Regions from separate parts of the Homo sapiens genome. Here regions 2, 3 and 4 are each linked to region 1. The links are contacts of gene promoters, found by promoter capture Hi-C in blood cells and fetal thymus (Javierre and others, 2016). All regions are on one chromosome and are shown on one strand. The core of a region is centred on a gene start or on the middle of the fragment in contact, and the rest is flanking DNA. Distances in the headings are between cores, read along the strand shown.

Region 1 (5,584 bases), core at 2,158-4,657:
TTTTTAAATTAAATAACACTTGGTCATTGTAGAAAATCAGAAAATATATAAACATTTTTGAAATTAAAAATTACTTCATTACCCACAAATTACTACTGTTAACATTTTAGAGTACATGTTCACAGGCACACACACATACACACAAACAACTCTCATTATGTTCTCATTCTGTCTCCTAGCTTTAAATACTATCTATATGCTGATAACATCCAAATTTACATTTCCAGACCAGACCTTTCACTAATGCTAGACATAAAATCCAATTGCCTACTTGACATGTGCACTTTGATATCTAATGGACATCTCAAACTTAACATGCCCCAAACTGAACTGGTCTTCACCAGCAAGCCTGCTATTCCTGCAACTTTACCCATTTGTATTAGTTATCTATTGCTGTATAACAATTTATGGCTATTGTCCGGAGCCCTCAGTTTTGTGCAACATGGAGCTTTCCTTAGGGCTGCTTGAGTCTCCTCACAACATGACAGCTGGCTTCCCTTCAAGTGAGTGATTCAAAAAGAGAAGGCAAGGAGGAAGGCACAATGCACTTTATTATCTAGTATTGAAGTCATACATCATCACTTCTACCATAATCTATTCATTAGACACAAGTTACTAAGTCCAGCCCCCACTTGAAGAGAAGGAAATTAAGTTTCTCCTACTTAAGAGAAAAACATCAAAGACTCTGTAGGTATATTACAAAACCACCATAATATCCCAGTTAATAACAATTTCATTCTTCTAGATACTCAGGTCCCTGGAGTCTTCCATGTCTCCTCCGTTTTACTCTCTAACCCTCACCCATTCTGTCAGGAAATCACACTGGTTCTTTCAAAATATACCTAGAGACTAACTATGTCTATTCACCTCCACTGCCACTACCATACTGCTCTGAAGGACACCCATATCTTTCCTGAATTACTGAAATATTCTTCTGCTTTTACTTTTGCCCCCTTACAGTTTATTCGTCACATGGCAGTCAATGCAATCCTTTTAAAACAAGGCAGATCATGACACTCCTCTGTTCAAACCCTGCATTGTTCTCCCCTTCCCTCAGGGTAAAAGTCACAGTTTACATTACCTACAAGACCCTACATAATTTGGCCCCATCGCCACCTCCATCACTCTGCTTCAGCCACTTTGTCCTCCTTGCTATTCCTTTAGTTATTCTTTCTGCCTGGAGTAGTCGTTCCCCAGATATCCATTTGGCTAATTTCCTTACCTCTTCCAGGTCTTTACTCAAATTGTACCTTTTCAATAAGGCCCATCCCAACCATTTTATAAAATACTGTAAACTGCCTAGCCCCCACCCTCATTCCTGATTTCCCTTACCCTGCTCTTGTTTTCCATAGCACTTTTCACCTAACATACTATATAATTAACTGGTTATTGTCTTTACTGCTTACTCTCTGCTTCCCATTACTAAATACAAGCTCCATTAAGAACAGGAATTTTTATCTGTTTTGCTCACGATGTATCTCAAGTGCCTAGGGGAAGCTCAATGAATATGTGTTGAATTAATGAAAATATAAAACTTAAAAAAACTGAAATAATTTGAAACTTTTTTTCAGTTAAAGAAAATGTACATGCTGAACATCTTTCCACATCACTTTTAATGGTAGGCAATGTAAAACTATACCACAATTTAACCAATTTCCTTTCATTGTACTTTAGTTAACAGCTTTTCTCTATATACTATAATGAAAACCTCTTGATATAAGTATGGGTTACATTACTTATTTCCTCGGGAAATATTCTGAAGGAGAATTGCTGGGTCAAACGATAAGCACTTTTTTTTTTTGAGACAGAGTCTCGCTCTGTTGCCCAGGCTGGAGTGCAGTGGCACGATCTCGGCTCACGGCAAGCTCCGCCTCCCGGGTTCACGCCATTCTCCTGCCTCAGCCACCCGAGTAGCTGGGACTACAGGCGCCCGCCACCACGCCCGGCTAATTTTTTGTGTTTTTAGTAGAGACGGGGTTTCACCGTGTTAGCCAGGATGGTCTCCATCTCCTGACCTTGTGATGATCCGGCCGCCTCAGCCTCCCAAAGTGCTGGGATTACAGGCGTGAGCCACCGCGCCAGGCCGATATGTACATTTTTAAGGCTAAATATATTATCCCTTTCCTGCCAGCAATGCATGAGAATACCCATTTCTCCATATCCTCACTAAGACAGGTTATTAATGAATGAAACCTGAGTTCACATTTGGGTTCTGCCATTAATAAGCTTAAAATTACTGTATCTATAAAATGGAAATCATGATAGCACCTATCTCAGTTGCTGTGAGGATTAAAGACAATGCATAGGTAAAGCACTTAGCACAGTGTTTGCACACAGTAAGCACGCAATAAAATGTTAAGTTTATTGTTTCTACCATTATTACGGCCTGAAAACAATTCCATTGCAAAGTGCCCTGCAGGCTATTAGAGGAATAACAACAACCTATCAGTTACTTATAATACGGTATTTTTTAAAGTTCAACGGTTTTCTTGAAGATTCCATTTAGATTTAATTTTTTAATTACATTTAATCAGCATCGAATGAAAAATACTCCCAAGTACAGTACGTATAACTGGGAGAGCGATCATTTTACCACCCTGATCCTTACTTTTTTATTTTGGACAGCGGGAAACCGTAAACAAACACGCCCTGTCGCCAAGAAACAAGATGGGAGGAAAGCAGCAAAAAACAAACAAACTTTGCCAAGTGAGCAAGCTACAGGTATCTCCTGTTCATTCTGGTCAGCACGACCTGTTCGAAACTCTGGGATAACAAGGAGTAAAATGAGGATTCATCTGGAGATTCCGAATGGGGCTGCAGCATTTGAAAAGCAGAACAATGATAACTTCCTTAAAGCATCATTGGGAAAAAAACCGTGAGTCACGGCGCAGGCTCTTGCGTCTTTGACGTGTACCCACAGGGCCCCGCCCCACTCAACACACACACTCACCCACACGCGCGCGCGCAAACACACACACACATATTTTAACGCCCTATTCAGGCCTGGGCTTCGTCTGACCAAGTTCTCGGGGTCAGATAACCGGTTCCTTTGCGGATGCTGACCACGGGGTCAGTTAGCAATCGGGCCTCAACTCAGGCCAAGCGCGGGGCCCCTGGAGGTGTGGGCGCACCCGACTCCCGCACAGACCCCCGCCCACGTCAGCCCCGGCTCCCTGCCCACGCACAACACCGACCTAGCTCCTCGCGCCTCGCCGCCCCGGCAGCCGCCGGCGTCGCCGCCGCTTCCATCTCTCGCGGGTCTCCAGGACGCCGCCGCCCGAGTGCTCACTCTCCCGCCGCTGCGTGGCCGGCGTCAGGCCCAGGCCTACCTCCCCTGCCCGGAGGGACCCGCGCCTGGTGCCCGCCTCCCTGCCCCGGCGCTCCCCAACCGCGCGGCGAGGAGCATGCGCAGTGGGACAGCCCGGCTCGGCGGGCACCGCCGGCGAGGGGCGGGAGGGGCCGAAGACCCGAGGACTGCTGCGAGGCCGGGTTGGGTAACCCGAGAGGAGGGTTGGGTAACCTGAGATCAGCGAGGGTGGGACCTTAGAGCTAGCCGAGACCCGGGCCCATAGCTCCCTGGGGGTTTTAAAGATGACGGCGAACTTAAATTTGGGGCGCCTGTCCGTATGCAAGGCGTTAGCGTTCTGTAAGTCACCTTGGAGAATGCGAAGAAGGACGGGATTTGTCCCCTACCCATGCTGAGGTTCTGACTACTCTGGTTATTCGTCTCCCTGTTTCTATAGTTAGAGTTACAGGAGACACTTAAATAGAATTTAATTAAGTCATATACAATTTCACTTTCAGGATATTTCAATGTCCTTCCAGATATTTGACGTTGACCGTGGTGCTGAAAGAAAATTAAGGTAAAGACTAAGTGTACTGATGTAGTTTCAAGTACTCCTAAGCACCATACATACATTATCTTTAATTCTGACTACAATTTGTGAGATAATTCTAATATTTACATTAACGCTAAAGATGAAGGGATTAAGGCACGGAGGTAAGTAACGTGTCTGGGGACAGGAAGCTTGTACATGGCAGAAGTAGAATCCTTCTGCCTTCAGAGCTGGAGCTCTCGAAAAATATGCAAAGCTGGCCTCCCAGATGGGTACCAATGAATATTCGATGAATCAATGGATGAAGCAAGCTTTTGGTTTAAAAGGAAAATATTTATTTTAATTTTAAAATCGCTTTCTTTTTTTTTTCACTTCATAGTTCTTGGAAGTCAGTACACCAGACAATCCTTTTTATTTGTGTCCGTTTCATTCAGTGGGGTTGCTTTAGGAAAGGGTTTTTTTGGGGGGGAGTGGGTCTGATTAACAGTCACTGATGTAACTATATGGCAATGGTGTTAAATATTTAAAATTCTGAGATTAAAAAGGTACGCAGTTACATACTATCTACATCTTTCCTCCTGTTGCATCCTCTGTAGGCTTTCACTAGATAACTAGTGATAATGACAGTTTGCCAACCCCCTTTCTTTTCCTTTAAGTGAACCCAATTTGTTCACATACATACACATGCAAATCCCAAAAGAAGGTTTTATTTGAAGTGTTCCTGACAAATAAAGGGGTAAAGGAGATTTTTTTTAAAAAAGAAGAAGAAGAAGAAATCTATTCTGGAACATAGCTAGAGCAATGTTCCCTAACCTGTGTTGGGGTGGATCACCTGGTTAAAGATCAGCAGGAGAGAAGATAGGCATCAGACAGAAATTATAGGACCAAGGTAATTTTCCATAAACCACTCATTATAATGAGAACATGTGGGACAGCATCTTAAAAGAACATTATCCTTTGAGAGTTAAAAGGGATCAAAAGTCATTGTCCCCTAATCTCAGCTTCAGGGAAAGCAGATCTGGCAATATGGAAGGAAGAAAAGTTTGACTTGTAGTATAGGCCTGAAATCTTTTGAAGAGGGTTGGGCTGAGGTAGGAGGCCCAATGTCTTTACAGTGATGTGGAGATAAAGCAAGTGATAACAATGATCATAAGATTCAAGAGAAATATGTTTTTCATGCATCTCTACTTGAGAACATATTTACTAGGACTTCTACTCCAGGTCTTATAAATTAGAAGCAGATATAAAGTACAGCTGTATCAAAATAGAGACATTATACAGAATGTGACAATTTGAACCCTGGAAATTCATTTCTTTTCCTGACTTTAACTTCTTGCATCACATCTTAACTACTTCCTTCTTTGCAACTGCAGCACTTTGTTCGTATCTCTGTTACAACACTTCTCCACTTATAATTATTCCTCTTTCTGGGCTTTATACTATGCTGTATACTATTATGTGCAAGGCACTGTGCTAGGCCTGTTGAGGAATTAACTGTATTTGTCTTTGTCCAAACAGGCCTAGCACAGTGACTTACAAATACCAGTCACTCAATGAACAGTTGTTGAAAGTTACTGAATATAGCCTCATAGGTATATGAAAGGAAACATTTAGAAGTCTTTAATGTATTCAAGCACATTTTACGGAGCACCTTCCATATATCAGGAAGTATGCTAGATGCTGGGGCTAGAAGGGCAAATAATGTTGGTATGGTCCCTACTGTCATGGAGTTCATAGTATATAGCATG
Region 2 (5,584 bases), core at 1,457-3,956, 930 kb after region 1:
CCTAAAAAGGGGCCATTTGAGCCTATCGGATGATTAGCTTTTGGCAAGGAAAGAAGGGAAATGGCACCCATGATTTCCTGACTCCCAGAAAGCCCCTGTCCCAGCTCTGAATGTCCCAACTGACACATTCTCCCAGGCCCTACTTATTCTCTGCACCTCCCTTGGTATACCCCACTTTTCACAATAATCACTCTTTCTACCTTGCATTATAGTTAATTGTGTGCATGCCTTATTTCTCTTGCTAAGCCATAAGGTCTTTGAGGAAATGGAATCCATTCACTTCATTTCTGCTTCCCCATCCACTGAGCCCAGAACTGGCCCATCACCAGCCTCTAATATATGCCTGGAATGTATGGATAAATGAGTGTGAACTGGGCCAGTTTTAAAAAGTGTTCAGATTCCTTCAGACATTTATTTAATAATATGAATTAAAACATCAACTCTGTGTGAGGCATTTGTGCTAAGTGTTGAGGATAAAAGTGGTACACATGGGCATGGGCCTACCCTCAAGAAGCCGATCACATAAAGTGGTGGCAAACACTAAATAAATGAATAAATATTTGTTGAGTTGCAATGGTGACTATTTTTAAGAAGGAAAAATAGAGAACAATGACAGATGAAATGTACCTAGATTCACAAGGTGCCAGGCACTGGGCACTACCCACGTGTTAACTCATTTGGTCCTTATCACAGTCCTAAGAGGTACAACCTTTTTACAGATGAGAAAACTGAGACACAGGAGAGTCAAAGAACTCCCCAAGACTAATAGCTAGTAACTAGTGTGGCTAGTATTATGGGAGAATTTCACAAAGGGACCTAATCTAGTCTGTCTACTTAGGGAAGGCTTTCCCAGGGAAGTGACATCAAGCTGAGGCCAGAAGGGTGAATAAAGGTGGGCCAGGCAAAGAGGCCACTGTGGGGAGTGTTTTGGGTGGGAAGGCCTGGAGGAGGCCAAGGGCTTAGCTAACTTGAAGAACTGAAAGGAAAGCAGTGAAGCTGGTGGTGAGGTAGGCAGAGGCCATGCTAAGAAATTTGTATTTTATGCTAAAAACAATGTACACTTTAAGTAGAAAAGATGATCCGACTGGAGTTTTGAAAAGCTCATCCTGGCAGCTGTAGAGGAGAATGGAGGGGGACCCTGTCTCACATATTTCCTATATGTGGTTAGGAGACAGGATGGTGAGTTGAATTGGGTATTGGCAGTGCAGGTGGAGGGGTGTCAGATTTGCTATATTTAGGAGAGAGAAGCAAGAGAATTTGAAAATTGGTTATGGCAGCTGTGAGAAATGGAGTGTTGAAGATGGTGCTCCAGGATTCCGACTTGGGTGCACAGGTGGCTGGTGGTACATTTAGTAAGATGGGGAAGATGGAGTTCAGGTTTAAGGGGAAGATGAAGACTGAAGTCCTGGCCGTTATGAGTTTGAAGCCCTATGAGCCATCTACGCGGAGAGAGCTGTATACGCTCTTGGATGTGTGTTTAGCGGCCAGGCTGGGGTGGAGAGGTACATGTGGGAGTTGAGGCTTGTATCTGTGGACCCACAGAGAAGGGAGCCAAGCCCTGCCCCAAGGAGCCCTCATGTTTGCAGGTCCTGCCTGCTTCAAATGTTACTGGTGATAACCTACATGTCACATTTGACAGGGCTTCCAAACTAAGCCATCTAAGAAAGGTCTTATGATTCATGGCTTAGATCCTGTCCCTGAGTAAAAAATCTTACTGTGAGTCCTTCAAATCCTTTTGTCAGTTCCTCAAACTGCTGATGTACTGATTAGTATGTAAAATACTGACATTGAAAAGAACACTGACTTGTTTCTGAATCATATAAACTTTGATTTTCTTGTGCACAAAACATTTTAGCCTGTATGTTGTCATCTGCAGCCAGTGACTGTAACCTGTGTACCATACCCTCCGATGAAAAAAATCCCACCTCTGATATAAGGGGTCCTCCTCCCTTTTCCTAAACTTTCTTCTAAAACCCTTCCAACGTGTAACAAATTTTGAAACATGCCCAACTTTGCTGGTAAGTCTTCTTGGGTGGATCCTCACATTTAGCTTCCAATAAATCAAATTATTTCTACTTCAACAGCCTTAATTTCCGTGGACACTGGTCAGAGTATTTCCTCCTGTCTTTCCATCATCCACTTCCTATGAGCTGTTCAGAAGCAGCTCTCTGCAGCCCCAACACCCACCTACCTGCAGGCCCCCCTCTCTCTGCTGGCTCCCGGAACAAGGCTCTGATTGGGATGGCAGAGGAAAGAGAAACGGGACCAGCAGCGCTACTCAGGCCTCGAAACTCCACACTCACTACCGTTTCCGCGCCACCCTCTCACGCGGAGCTCCTGGAAGGGTCCAGCGCTCCCTCTGCAAGGCACCGTCGGTCTACACCGCTCGATTGGCCTTTTATGGCACTGACTGTTCTTTGAAGCTTTTGCAGCTCCTTCTAACCCGATTTCACCGTGTTGGAAATGTTGGGGGTGGGGCGTAAAGGGGGCCATCCCATCCACAGAAAGAGTCGCTTGCAGAAATGATTTTAAAACTCCCGGGTGCCAGGACGTGAGGAGAATCCGGCAGGGAGGGACGGGAGAATTTCCAAAGGTGCCGCTCAGTGGGAAAATCCCTTTGTCAGAGAGTGGCCCGAGGGGCGCGGAATGCAGCCGCGCCCACCCCGCCCCGCGTCACCGCGTCTTCCGGAAGCTCCACGCCCCTGGGTACTTGGTTTCCCCGCATGGTTCCGGAAGAGCGCGGCGCAGCTGGCTGTGAGCGCAGGGCTATCCCGGCGGCCGCTTCGGCAGCCAGGGCGGCGCGGAGGGGCAGGGCCAGAGGGAAGCGCTTTGTTCCGCGCGTGGTTCCCGCGCCTGGGGGTGCGCGGGAGAGGCGCGAATCCGAGTGCCGCGCGCGGCCCGGGGACTTGCACGGGCGTGCGGGGTGGAACCGCAGGAAGCGGAGCTCTCGGGTTCCCGCCCCGCCCCGCCCCGCCGGCGGCGGAGGCAGCGAGCGCGAGAGCCCAGCGGAGTCGCTGGGAGCCTGAGGCACCGAGACACAAAGGCAGGCGGGATGCGGGAGCAGGCAAAGGGAAAGCGAAAGCCGCGCGCCCGGCCGGTGACTGGGTGAAGGCGCCGCGCAGCTTTCCCGACGCCGGCTGTACCCGGACCTCCTGGTCGAGCCTGGCGCGCCGCAGCCATGGCCATCGCTCAACTGGCCACGGAGTACGTGTTCTCGGATTTCTTGCTGAAGGAGCCCACGGAGCCCAAGTTCAAGGGGCTGCGACTGGAGCTGGCTGTGGACAAGATGGTCACGTGCATTGCGGTGGGGCTGCCCCTGCTGCTCATCTCGCTGGCCTTCGCGCAGGAGATCTCGATTGGTAAGCCTCGCCCAGGACGGAGGGGAGTGGCCGCCCCGGTCTGGCCCGGTGAGCTGCGATTTTACGGCTCACAGGCCCGAGTCTGGGTACGCCCAGCTGTGATGGTCGTGAGCGTCAGGAAGGGCAGTGGCCCCAGTTTTATGGTCCAAAGCGTTCTTTGCCCAGGTGTTTCATTGGTACCCTGGTCTACTCTGCTCGCATCCCTACTCCTCAGTTCTTTTGTTCCTCATGCCCCTCTGATCGGACTGTGGCTTATAGTTTATGTTCCACCCTTAGAACTGGCACCTTGCCACCAGATTTGCCAAGAATAGCTGTGTCCCCGTTTTTCACCCCTGTCTCCTACATATTTGTCCAGCCGCCTAAAATTTTACACCAGAGAAGTTCCTGAGTGGCTACATGGAGGATGTGAAGACCGGTGCTCCATGAGAAGTGTGTTCTTTCAGTGTCTTACATATAATTGGTATTTGCTGAGATCTTAGCTCTCTAGGGTTGTGAATGATAGGAAATATCTGCACTTGGCAGGCATTAGAGGGATCCTCAACTTGGACGGTCTTACAAATGTGAGATGAACAAGTCCCCTTCCTGTAAATTATCATTTGAGCTTCATAACAGTTGTGTGAGATTGGAAAGTCTGGTGGTTTGGGCAGGATCACGTGGCTACGTGCCTTACCTTCCTCATCAGCTGTTCTGACTCTCCACACAGGAGAGAGTGTTTATGAACCAACAGGAAGGTAGCGCAGGAGGGTTAAATACAGTTCTGTGGCAGGGGAAGAGAGAGGACCCAGTGCGGCTGGACTTTGGGAAAACTTTTGTCAGAGGGTGGGTGGGATTTGGACAAGAAGGAGTAAGACCTTTGTTAAGGTTTTGAGATGGCAGAGAATGTTATATGTTCCTGGAAAGAGAGACACAGTGACTCTCCTAGCCAAGGCAGGAGGATAAGTCAGAGTTCCTGGAGTCTGAGAGTGAATATGGGCCTGGGTCAGCCTGGAACAGAAGAGTGTAGGCTGATGGTTTCAGAACTGTGAAGTTATTGTTTGAGCAGAGGACAGACTGGTTGAATGATGGTGGCATTTAGGGTCTGGGAAGAAGGTGAGAGGATGGGGCCTGGAGGGCTGGGTGCCAGAGAGCAAGGCATCGGCTGAGGTCTTGTGCACAGAGGGTGTGAAGAGTGGAAGAAAATGGGTGGGTGATTGCTGTGCGATCAAGGAGTAAATAAGCAGCACTTGAGTACCTAGTATTTAATAGGCCATGAACGGCAGTACTGGTCAAACGTGCTGCGGAGGTTGTATGTCTGGGTGAGTGGAGTGTGGTGTTGGTGGTGATGGGAATTGTGAAGTTGAGGGAATAGTTGATTAGGAAAGAATGACTATGAGTGTGATTTTGCAATCTGCAGCACTAAGTTGTTCAGCTTGGCAGGAAGTTGCCAAATTCATTGTGGAAAATAGTTTTTAGTTTTCCTGCTCTTTGCGCAGGCATAGTCATCGGGATGTTCTTTAAGTTTCCATTTGACAGTGGATTGAGGCTTCCAGCTGAAAGCAAAACCACCAAGTAGCATGAGTCCTGGAGATAATCTCTCCCTTTGGTCAATTCCTCCTTCAGTACTGGCTGTGTGCTGAACTCGGTGCTGACCTCCAAGGACCCGGGAGTAAAAGAGGCATGATCCCTGTCTTGGAGGTGCAAGTCTTGGGTACCTGGTTGGGACAGAAAGGCAGGAGGAAGGAGTTAGTCACCCTCTGTGACCAATCTCCACCTCTAGCACATGTACTAGAGGGACTCCTAAGGCACCTGTACCTGTAATGCCTTAGATACGTCTAAATTGGTGGGCTGTCTGAGAGGTATTTTTGGGGTATTGGGAGTGGTTTTAACTAGCAAGAGTTTGAGCTCATGCTGTGTGCATAGCACTGTTGTGTGCTGAGGGAGATGGGAAAGGATTTTGAGACCTTGTTCTTGCCCTGCCCTCTCCCTGCCCTGTGGCAGTTTACTATGCAGTTGGGCACTAGAAGGTATCTGTTAGCAGGTAAGTCATTCAGCTGTGTGTAATTCAGCACCCAGCCAGGTGTTGAGCTATGAGCTCCAGGCTGGTGAAGGTTGGCAGGCACTTGGGTGAGGAGCTGTCAAGCAGACTCCCATGTTTTCTGAAGTGTTTTCAGGAGTTCCAGGGGAGGACAGACATGTGGGATGAAGCTAACAGGACCAGGGAAGACCTATTAGATTAGGTATACATT
Region 3 (5,584 bases), core at 1,012-3,511, 610 kb after region 1:
CTTTGAATGAGAAGGGACCATTGGGAGTTTGGCTTTAACATTTAGTTTTAATAATTAAATATGGGTAAGAGTAATTTATCTCTGCAATAAATTAGTTAATGTTGTATTTACACCGAATGTTTATTTGATCATAGCTATTATGCAGAGCAAGAGATTATTATTTCTCTTTCTAGTAATTATAATAAATGTTTAGATTGGCAGCACATTTTCCTGAGATAGTCTGAAAAGTATCATCAGCATTGTTACTCCTGCAGTCCCAAAGTTTAATGGATAAAAACTTTAAAAAAAATATATACTGCTGTAAACATGGGAAGAAAAATATCTGATCCTAAAAATAGTAAAGGGATGGAACAGAGAGGAATATCTAATGCAAGGTACTACTTTTTTCACATTAAAAAAATAGTAACAGTTTTTAAAATATTCTAAAATAAATAATTAAAAATAATTTTAAATAAAGTGTTTTGTTTTATTTTATCTATTTATTTATTTTTGAGACGGAGTCTCGCTCTTTCGCTCAGGCTGGAGTTCAGTGGCGTGATCTCAGCTCACTGCAACCTCTGCCTCCCAGTTTCAAGCGATTCTCCTGCCTCAGCCTCCCGAGTAGCTGGGACTACAGGTGCCCATCGTCATACCCAACTAATTTTTGTATTTTTAGTAGAGACGGGGTTTTGCCATGTTGGCCAGGCTGGTCTCAAACTCCTAACCTCAGATGATCTGCCTGCCTCGGCTAACCTCAGATGATCCGCCTGCCTCGGCCTCCCAAAGCGCTGGGATTACAGGCGTGAGCCACCGCACCCGGCCGAGGAGAAGTATTTTATTAAGCACCTTCTACGAGTGGGCACTTTAATAGGCACTTGTATGAGTATTACATAGCTTAAATTTACATTTGAAGCGCTTATGGTTTTAGTGTGATCTTTGTTTCTGATATCTGCTCTGACTACTTTAAAAATACAGTCATGTGTTGCATAATGACAGGGACAGGTTCTGAGAAATGTGTTGTTAAGAGGATTTCATCGTATGATAATAGAGTGCACTTACACAGCCCTAGATGGTACAGCCTACTACATGCACATCTAGGCTTCATGGCATAGCCTGTTGCTCCTAGGCTACAAACCTGTACAGCATGTTACTGTACTGAATACTATAGGCAGTTGTAACACAACAAAAGCAGTTGACTGAAATGTTACGCAGCTCATGACTGTATTTGAAAGAGTGGGTAGTTAGAAATATTTCCTCACAGGATCACAGCTTGTGAATCTGCAAGCTTGGTCATTGCTGGATCTTGATTGCTAGGAATTTCAAAATACCCTTTTCCTCTTTCCCAAATAATAGTTAAAACCTCATTAAAACCTGAAATTCTTAATTCAGAATAATCTTTCCTTCATCCCTTTCAGTCCTGATTTTAAGTGGTTGAGGTTTCTTTACATATTAGGCATGTATTAACAATTCATTGAATGATTGCCTTATCAAATGAATGTATTGAAAAAAATAGGTGAGTGTACTAGGCGTGGTGGCTCACGCCTGTAATCCCAGCACTTTGGGAGGCTGAGGTGGGAGGATTGCTTGAGCCCAGGAGTTTGAGACCAGCCCTGGCAACATAGAGAGACCTTGTCTTTAACCGCCTCCCAAAAAAAGCTTTGTGTTTTTCAGTGCTGCATGTGGAAACAAACAAAAAGATGATTTCCTGAAATTATAGAGGACATTTGACATTCCTAGGTCAAAACTCACCTTGCTTAATCTTTGTGGTACAAATAATAATTCATGAATATTTATACCATCCTCTTATATAGAAGTTAGAGTTTTTCTCTTGCATGTTGAAACTGAAAAAGCACTTTTTTACAAGAATATTTAAGTTGGTAGACAAAGTTTTTGTATTCACAGTAGAATGGAGTTGTGGGATTTATCCTTGTTATTTCTAGTTTGGTAAACTAGAGTGTATTGATATTTTGGTTTTTCTCCACAGTTCGTAATGGACCTGAAAGTGGCAGCAAGATTATGGTTCAGTTTCCTCGTAACCAATGTAAAGACCTTCCAAAAAGTGATGTTTTACAAGATAACAAATGGAGTCATCTTCGTGGGCCATTCAAAGAAGTTCAGTGGAATAAAATGGAAGGTCGAAATTTTGTTTATAAAATGGAGCTGCTTATGTCTGCACTTAGCCCTTGTCTACTATGATTTTTTCCAGATGTTTCCTAAAGAAGTTTCCAGAAACTTTGACTTGAAATGTTTGCAGATCAACTATAAGCACAAAGAAGAGATAACTTCCAAAAGAGTGCTGTTTTTAAAAATAATAATTAGGAAATGTTTATTTAGCACTTTCAAACTTTTCACTTTATAAATGACAAGTGCTTTGAAATGCAGAAGTTTATGTACAGTTGTATATACAGTATGACAAGATGTAAAATAATATGTTTTTCATGCAGTTTAAAATATTACTAACTTAAGGGTTTCTATGTGCTTTTTAAAATATTCCTTCTTTGATGTTGACATCAAATAAAGTATGTGGTTTAAAAAAATCTCCAAATACCTTTTTTTCCCCCCAAATACTTTCTAAACTTTTTTTTTTTGAGATGGTATCTCACTCTGTAGCCCAGTCTGGAGTGCAGTGGTGTGATCATGGTTCACTGCAGTCTTGACCTCCCAGGCTTAGGTGATCCTTCTGTCTCAGCCTTCCGAGTAGCTGGGACCACAGGCATGCACAACCACGCCTGGCTAATTTTTGTATTTTTTATAAAGACAGGGTTTTTCCATGTTGCCCAGGCTGGTTTCGAACTCGGCTCAAGTGATCTACCTGCCTCTGCCTCCCAAAGTGCTAGGATTACAGGCGTGAGCCACCATGCCCAGCCTACTCTAAATTATTGATAACCTCTTCCTCCAGTTGTCTCCTTTAAGCTTTCCTGGGTCTAACCTACATAGGTAATTTAAGAACATCCTCAGAAAGGACAGCTGAAGGCAATAGGAGGCAGATTATCTCTTTAGGGCGTCCTCAAGTTTTTTTGGTCTGTTCTCCCACTTGATTGACCTCACCAGTTGAGACACCTAGTGTATGGCTCATGCCCAGCCTTCCACCTGGGATTCTCCAGCCTCCACCCAGCAGCCCTGGATTGCTTTCTCCAATTAAGGCCTTTCCATCAGCTCTCTGCTTTTTCAAAGCGAAAAAACTAATGGATTAGTGGGTTATCTTTTCCAAGGAACAGGTTTGCACTTCTTGGAAAAAGTGCCTAAAGTGTGCCCATTAATATGAGGATAGATTTAGGCTCATAAGCCTTTTGGTAACACTGAAAGTAGTATCATATAGGCAAGCTCTCCTTATAAGTAAGGCTTTCAATTTTTAAAACAGACATCCTGCTTTAACAATTTGTAAGATGACTGTGCAGTAATAAAAGTCCTTTGTATTTCTCCACCGTGTTTTCATTAAAGAAAAATGGAGCTTGTGGGCCACGATAGAACAACTTTGTGCTTTTTTCCCCTTCTGATCAAGATCTTGCATCTTTCTATCCATGGAAATTAAAATAATTGGTATGAATTTGCAGTTATTTAAAAATCTTGAGTGCTTCAAAAATTATTGTTGCCTGCAAAATTTGCCTTGGTCAATAGGCTAATCTGCACAATTCCACTCACATAAGGAGTCTTTTATGTGATTTTGAAGGCTCAGGCTAGAAGAGTGAGTCTGAGACTTTTGCTGAATGACCAGTTTTTGTTTATATAAACTTCTCCCATTGCAGATTGATACTTTGGTAAACTAATAAAAATGAATTCCTAAAATGAAATTTTGAAAAGATACAAAATAAAAGCCCCATTTATTTGATTATAACTTGATTAAATTGCATCAAATACTAGAATTTATAGACAGAGTCTCACTCTGTTCCCCAGGCTGGAGTGCAGCAGCACTGTTTTGGCTCACTGCAACCTCTGCCTCCTGGGTTCAAATGACTCTCATGCCTCAGCCTCCCGAGTAACTGGGATTACAGGTGTGTGCCACCACGACCGTCTAATTTTTGTAATTTTGATAAGAGGGTTTTGCCATCTTGGCCAGGCTGGTCTTGAACTCCTGGCCTCAATTGATCCGCCCACCTCGGCCTCCCAAAGTGCTAGGATTACAGGCATAAGCCACAGTGCCCAGCCCCCCCAAATATAAACATTTCTGAATGCTTTATTTTTTATTTCTCTGCTTGTCATGAATCAGTAACAAATCATGGACCAGGACCACACCTTGAGTAGAATGGCTGAGAATACATGTGCAGATACTACCGTCTGTTCTTTTAAACCCCATCTGAGTAGAGTGGGATAACTGAAGACTTTACGTTCTTCATGTCTTACTTTCCCTGTTTGGTACGTCGCTGTAGTGAGTAGCCAGTACCGACCTAAAGAATTGTAGAAACTAAAGCAAATGTGTGGGAAAATGGTAGCTTAGTTGCTGTGGTAGCAATTCTTATGCCTTGTATTTATTTACATTTTCTAGTTTAATGTTTTAACCTGAATTTCCTGGAGTTTGAAGGATGTGCTATGGAAACTTGGGAGACAGTTTGAAGAAAACCAATTAGCCCCTCAACAAGTATTAACAGGTTGGCAAGGAGCTGTGTTTGAATCTTGGCTCTGCTACTGGCTTGCTGTATGAACTTGGCAAGGATTCTCTGTGAACTTGTTTCCTTATATATAAATGAAGATAGAGGTGCCTCCTCTACTAACCTCAGTGGTGATTGAGAAGTTTCAGTAACGTTGGTAATAAATGTTAAATTCTAAAGTACTACATAAATATAAAGCATTAAGCAAGTGTGCTTCTAAGAGTCAAGCCAATTAGAAAAAATGGTTGAGACACCAGCTGTATTTATTAGGAGAAAGCATTTCAGAATGTCCTGTATTCATATTTGTATGATGTTTTATATATGGTGAAGATATTGAGTGTTTTTCATCAGATTTCTTTGCTGGAACACCATCAAATCAAAGGGATAACCTGATTATCTCATGTTGATCAGGAATTGTAATTGGCCCTTAAATGCTGGGATTACAGGTATGAGCCACCATGCCTGGCCTCCTTAGGTATTGCTGATGAATAAAAACAGGGGCAACTACATTATTTAGTAAGTTCACTTTGTTTAGTTGGAAAAAAATCCATTCAGAACATGAGGTACCCAAGGGAAAAATATTTGTACAGACAGAACTACCTGGGCAAGCACTAGCCTGTAACATCAAAGGAATTTAACCTACCTATGTGTGTGAGATGGAGCCGGGACCCCTTCTTAAAGGCCTGTGGGCGCCCTGAGCCTGAAAATAAAGGAAAATCTTGAATTCCTTTGAGGGAATTTCCAGGGTAGTGCTGAGACGTAAATAAGCAACTTGATAAGCAAGAAGGTAAGTGTAGTTTAAAACAATTGCCAAGGAAGTTAAGAGTCCAGATGCTTGGTTCCCTATAGAAACTAAAGATAACATCTTAAAATATGTCCCTGAGTTGTTTTCAGAATCTCAGATCCCCACCAAGTGGATTTGCTGGCATGTAGACCTCAGATAAGCAAGGACAACTTGGGCTGCCGTTCTTTGTTCTGAATTTTTTCCCGAGGGGCCTGGAGGAGGTCATGCCTGTGAG
Region 4 (5,584 bases), core at 1,721-4,220, 570 kb after region 1:
GCCTGTAATCCCAGCATTTTGGAAGGCTGAGGTGGGAGGATTGCTTGAGCCCAGGAGTTTGAGACCAGCCTGGGCAACATAGTGAGACCCCATCTCTACAAAAACTAAAAAATTAGCTGGGCATGGTGGCACATACCTGTAGTCCCAGCTACTTGGGAGGCTGAGGCAGGAGGATCACTTGAGACCTGGAGGCTGAAGCTATAGTGAATCCAGATGGCACCACCTCAGCCCATCCTTGGCAACAGAGTCAGACCATGTTCCTTTAAAGAAGAAGAATATGTCATCCAAAAGACCACCAGGATGGCTAAATAGTAGAAAGGAGAGCTATATTGGTGATTTCAGTTTGCACAGCGGGAAGAGACAGTCTCCAGCTTATGCCAAAAGTGCTCTCTTCCCAGAGGGAAAAGGGCAGATTGGTTTTTATGCCTCACAGGGCCTGTATCACACAATAGAGTAAAACATATTCAGCAGTTTTGGGAGAAAAGTTATACATATCTATGAGGGAAGTTGAACACACGTGCAATGGATAAACATATGTAACACAAATCCCACGTTCACTTTGGGGTAAGGTTTTAACATTAAAATAAGGTGGAACTTGGCCCTTCATGTCAAAAGGTGAACTATTGGACACAAAGTTTGCATGCAGTCTCTATAAACTGGCTGACACTGGCTCGAGGTCTTCGGTTGCTTATCAGGAAAGAATTTTTGTAAGGCTGGTCCTTTGTCCAATCAGAGCTATAGTGGTTTGGATTGTAAATCAGGTTTGGTAAGGTTCTGACAATTTTCCCAATAGCTCCTATTTTTAGCAAATTTAGCAAGATTGTGTTTTTTCTTGTAGCCTTAGGAATTTGCGAAGTTCCCATGCCAACCAAGCCCTGAACCCTCCACCCATAGGTAACTTTCGTTTTCTTAACTTTAGGGTTCTTCTTAGTTGATAAAGGAGCATCCATTTTGGTCTTCCAGATAACAGAACACAATCTGACAGGGCAATTATGTGACTAAAATAATGAAATATTAAAAACTGAATTTTCCACAGAAAATCTGGTATATTCATTGGCTAAATCTATGATTACTCTTCCTAGAACTCCTACCTTTAGCCTCATTTCTCTGATATGCTGTTTTTCTGACTCATATTAACCACAACGAGGATTAACTTCTTCAAATTTAGACTAACACTTGATATTATTTGCATTGGCAACCTAATATTTGTCACTACAGTAAATACCTGATATGGTTTGGCTCTGTGTCCCCACCTAAGTCTCAGGTTGAACTGTAATCCCCAGGCTTGGGGGTGGGGCTTTGTGGGAGGTGATTGGATCATGGGTGTGGTTTCTAATGGTTTAGCACTATCCCCCTGGTGCTACCTCGTGATAGAGTTCTCCCAAGATCTGCTTGTTTGAAAGCGCCTCCCACTTCACCCTCTCTTTGTCACCTGCTGGCCATGTGAAGATGTGCCTGCCTCCCCTTTGCAGTGGCTCATGCCTGGAATCCCAGCACTTTGGGAGGCCGAGGTGGGCAGATCACGAGGTCAGGAGATCGAGACCATCCTGGCTAACATGGTGAAACCCCATCTCTACTAAAAATACAAAAAATTAGCCAGGTGTGGTGGTGGGCACCTGTAGTCCCAGCTACTAGGGAGGTTAAGGCAGGAGAATGGAGTGAACCTGGGAGGTGGAGCTTGCAGTGAGCCGAGATCGCGCCACTGCACTCCAGCCTGGGCGACAGAGTGAGACTCCGTCTTAAAAAAAAAATTTTTTTTTCTTTCTTTTTCCTTTTTTTTTTTTTTTTTTTGAGAGAGGGTATGGCTCTGTTACCCAGGCTAGAGTGCAATGGCATGATCTCAGCTCACTGCAACCTCTGCCTCCCAGGCTCAAACCATCCTCCCACCTTAGCCTCCAGAGTAGCTGGGACTACAGGCACATGCCACACCCAGCTAATTTTTATTTTATTTTATTTTATTTTTTTATTTTAGAGGCAGGGTTTCATCACATTGCCCAGCCTGGTCTCGAACTCCTGGACTCAAGTGCTCCTCCCACTTCAGCCTCCCAAAATTCTGGGTACAGACATGAGCCACTGTTCCCATCCTGCCTGCTTCCCTTTGCCTTTGCCCCATGATTGTAAGTTTCCTGAGGCCTCCCCAGAAGCAGAAGCCTGTATAACCTGCAGAATCATGAGCCCATTAAACCTTTTTTATAAATTACCCTGTCTCAGGTATGTCTTTACAGCATGCGAGAACAGACTGATACAACACCGAAATGCAGATTTCCATTTGCTTTTGGTTTTAAAGCTCAGCTTCCTTTTAGTTTACCTGTAAAGCCTCTGTGTGGCCTAATCTTTCATTCAGTAGCAATTTACTATTACATACTATACTAGGTGCTCTGGTACATGCTGTAGTGGTATTAGTATATAGTAGTATGTACTCTACTGGTATATATGGTACATATTGTACTGGTACATACTGTGCCAGGTACTAGGAATACAAAGATGAATAAGACATAGTCCCTGACCTGGAAGAGCTTGGTCTAGTGGGGACACTGACATGCATAGAGGAGAAGACCAAGCTTCCCTTTCACTCTTTCTGAAGGCTCATTGAAAATAAACTGACAAAAAGCAGACTAACAGGAGAAAACGGCATACAAACTTTATTTAGTGTGCATAAGCATGAGGGAACCTCAGGAGAATGACTACTCAATAATCCAATGAGGTCCAGATGTTTATATACCCTTCTTCATAGAGGAAGGGGAGATGGTGGGCACGGGGGTATAGGAGTAAAAGATTTTTAGGGAAAATGAATGAGCTCCAAGAACAATGGCCTGGAAGAAAGTTATTTTGAACTCTGGGGGAGGTGGCAGGAAGATGAGGGGCAGAACTTTACTGTGAGCAAAGGTTATCTTACATAGATAATGTCTCCCAGGTAATCCTCGTGGAGCTGCACTCACAAGAATAAATGAAAAATCCAGATCGGGCACGGTGGCTCATGCCTGTAATTCCAGCACTTTGGGAGGCCGAGGCGGGTGGATCACCTGAGGTCAGGAGTTTGAGACCAGCCTGGCCAACATGGAGAAACCCCATCTTTACTAAAAATACAAAAATTAACCAGGCATGGTGGCAGGCACCTGTAATTTCAGCTACTCCGGAGGCTGAGGCAGAAGAATCACTTGAACGTGGGAGGCAGAAGTTGCAGTGAGCTGAGATCATGCCACTGCACTCCAGCCTGGGTGACAGAGTGAGACTCTGTCTCAAAAAAAAAAAAAAAAAAGCCTGCCTGGACATGGTGACAACTCCCAGTGTCATCTTTTTGGTGGTTAACCTGTTCTGGTTATTTGATGAGATTCCTAGAGAGGGGATTCACTGCTTTTTTTTTTTTTTTTTTTGGAAAGAAGCTTCCCTGCTCACAAAAGGAAGTTCCAGAGTCCTTCCAGAAGCTTCAGAAAAGGAAGAAGATCAGAGAGATGGGGAAGCTGAGGAAGGTCAGAGAGATCCCTTGGTTCTGAGGCTTATTTCTGAGACCTTTTAATATTCCTTAATTCAAAACATTCAGCATGCCAAAGTGCTATATTTTACAATTTTGTTTTCTAAGCCCCAACTCAGGTGAAAAAATAATTGAAATAAAATAGAATAAATCCTATCAGTATTGCCCTATATTGTTTTTTGTTTGTTTTTTGTCTTTTGAGATGGAGTCTTACTCCATTGCCCAGGCTGGAGTGCAATGGTGCAATCCTGGCTCACTGCAATCTCCGCCTCCCAGGTTCAAGTGATCCTCCTGTCTTGGCCTCTGGAGTAGCTGGGACTACAGGCATACACCACCAGGCCCAGCTAATTTTTGTATTTTTAGTGGAGACGGGGTTTTGCCATGTTGGCCAGGCTGGTCTCGAACTCCTGACCTCAGGTAATCCGCCTGCCTCAGCCTCCCAAAGTGCTTGGATTACAGGCGTGAGCCACTGCACCCGGCCAGTATTGCCCTATATTGTACTGTACACTGTTAAATTAAGTTTAGCCTAAAAGCTGCCTCCTTACATATTTTAAGTTTGGCCTAAAAGTTTCTCCATACCTAGTGAAATGTAATCTAACTGGATGTGTAAATGGACTTGTGAAAGGAAAATAAATCTTGGAACCCCAAAATCACTAAGCCAAAAGAAAAGTCAAGCTGGGAACTATGTCAGACACCTGCCTCCCATTTTATTCCTAAATAAGACAGCTACAAAGAGAAGAAGCTATATACCTCCCTCACAATTGTCCACAATACCTTGTGGACAAAGGACAGACAGAACTCAAAGTCATCCCTCTGAGGCTCACCTGAGACAAATGCATATCTGATTGTTTTCTCTGCCCTATTGTTTATGTAAAAACAATATGCACAGTCACTGAGCCAGACTAAATTGTGTATTCAGTGGAAGGCTGATCAAGGACTCAAAAGAATGCAACCTTTTCCTTTTATCTCTTATCTACTTCTAACCTGGAAGTCCCCACATAGAGTTGTCCTGCCTTATCTGAGGGAACCAATGTGTATCTTACACAGATTAATTGATGTCTCATGTCTCCCTAAAATGTATAAAACCAACGTGTGCTCTGATCATCCTGGGCACATGTTGTCAGGACCTCCTGAGGCTATGTCACAGTGCATCCTTAACCTTGGCAAATTAAACTTTCTAAATTGACTGAGACCTGTCTCAGATATTTTGGGTTCACAGACTGTTACTCTTGTAACAAGTAGCCAAGTCTCAACCAATCACAGCAGCCATACTCCAACCACTCACAGGCGGCCAACTGTTCGAACCACCTTCAAATAAGGCAAATGCTGAGCTGTAACCAATCCAGCTGTTCCTGTACCTCCCTTCCATTTTGTGTAGGCCACTTTCCTTTTTCTGTCCTTAAATCCTCTCCAACCATCTGGCAGCACTGGAGTCACTTCTGGACCTATTCTGTTCTGGGGGTTGCCCAATTCAAGAATTGTTCTTTGTTCAATTAAGCTCCGTTTAATTTGTCTAAAATTTTTCTTTTAACAACATGTTAAAGGAAACTGAATATCATAACAAGAGAAATTTACTAAAGAATACATGGGCCAGGCACAGTGGCTCACACCTGTAATCCCAGCACTCTGGGAGGCTGAGGTGGGCAGATCTGTTAAACCCAGGAGTTCGAGATCAGCCTGGGCAACATGGAGAAACTCTGTCTCTACCGAAAACACAAAAAAATAGCCAGATGTGGTAGTGCATGCCTGTAGTCCCAGCTACTTAGAAGGCTGAGGCTGGAGGATCGCTTGAGCCCAGGAGGCAAAGGCTGCAACGAGCTGAGATCCTGCCATTGCACTCCAGTCTGGGTGACCAGAGTGAGACCTTGTGTGATGGTTGATACTGTCAACGTGATTGGATTGAAAGATGCAACGTATTGTTCCTCAATGTGTCTGTGAGGGTGTTGCCAAAGGAGATTAACATTTGAGTCAGTGGCCTGGGAAAGGCAGACTCACCCTCAATGTGGGTGGGCACCGTCCAATCAACTGCCAGTGCAGCTAGAAAAAAAGCAGGCAAAAGAAGGTGGGAGAAGCTGACTTGCTGAGTCTTCCACCCTTTATCTTTCTCCCGTG

Evidence for each region. Contacts are between HindIII fragments. The CHiCAGO score rates a contact against its expected background, and 5 or more counts as called.
Region 2: the fragment with the promoter of PANX1 here is called in contact with the fragment with the promoter of SLC36A4 in region 1 in 13 of 17 cell types (total CD4 T cells, total CD8 T cells, activated CD4 T cells and 10 more); the score reaches 12.8 in total CD4 T cells.
Region 3: a fragment that was not itself captured here is called in contact with the fragment with the promoter of SLC36A4 in region 1 in 1 of 17 cell types (M2 macrophages); the score reaches 5.8 in M2 macrophages.
Region 4: a contact is called between a fragment that was not itself captured here and the fragment with the promoter of SLC36A4 in region 1, in 2 of 17 cell types (M0 macrophages and M2 macrophages). The highest score is 7.2, in M0 macrophages.

The regions. Positions count from the first base shown.
Region 1 is chr11:93,194,584-93,200,167 of GRCh38, forward strand. It overlaps SLC36A4 (solute carrier family 36 member 4), which reads right to left and starts at 3,408. Exons shown (of 11, transcript NM_152313.4): 1 at 3,195-3,408. The coding sequence starts at 3,249. RefSeq lists a silencer at 3,170-3,549. The HindIII fragment of the contact is 1,801 bases long and covers 2,225-4,025 here.
Region 2 is chr11:94,126,135-94,131,718 of GRCh38, forward strand. It overlaps PANX1 (pannexin 1), which reads left to right and starts at 2,707. Exons shown (of 5, transcript NM_015368.4): 1 at 2,707-3,359. The coding sequence starts at 3,179. RefSeq lists enhancers at 2,640-2,699, 3,020-3,279 and a silencer at 2,930-2,999. The HindIII fragment of the contact is 7,489 bases long and covers 2,422-5,584 here.
Region 3 is chr11:93,809,890-93,815,473 of GRCh38, forward strand. It overlaps MED17 (mediator complex subunit 17), which reads left to right. Exons shown (of 12, transcript NM_004268.5): 12 at 1,964-5,074. The coding sequence ends at 2,175. Among named protein-coding and RNA genes, the nearest start is that of MED17, 28 kb to the left of the region's middle. The HindIII fragment of the contact is 1,257 bases long and covers 1,634-2,890 here.
Region 4 is chr11:93,765,967-93,771,550 of GRCh38, forward strand. No RefSeq gene overlaps it. Among named protein-coding and RNA genes, the nearest start is that of MED17, 16 kb to the right of the region's middle. The HindIII fragment of the contact is 822 bases long and covers 2,560-3,381 here.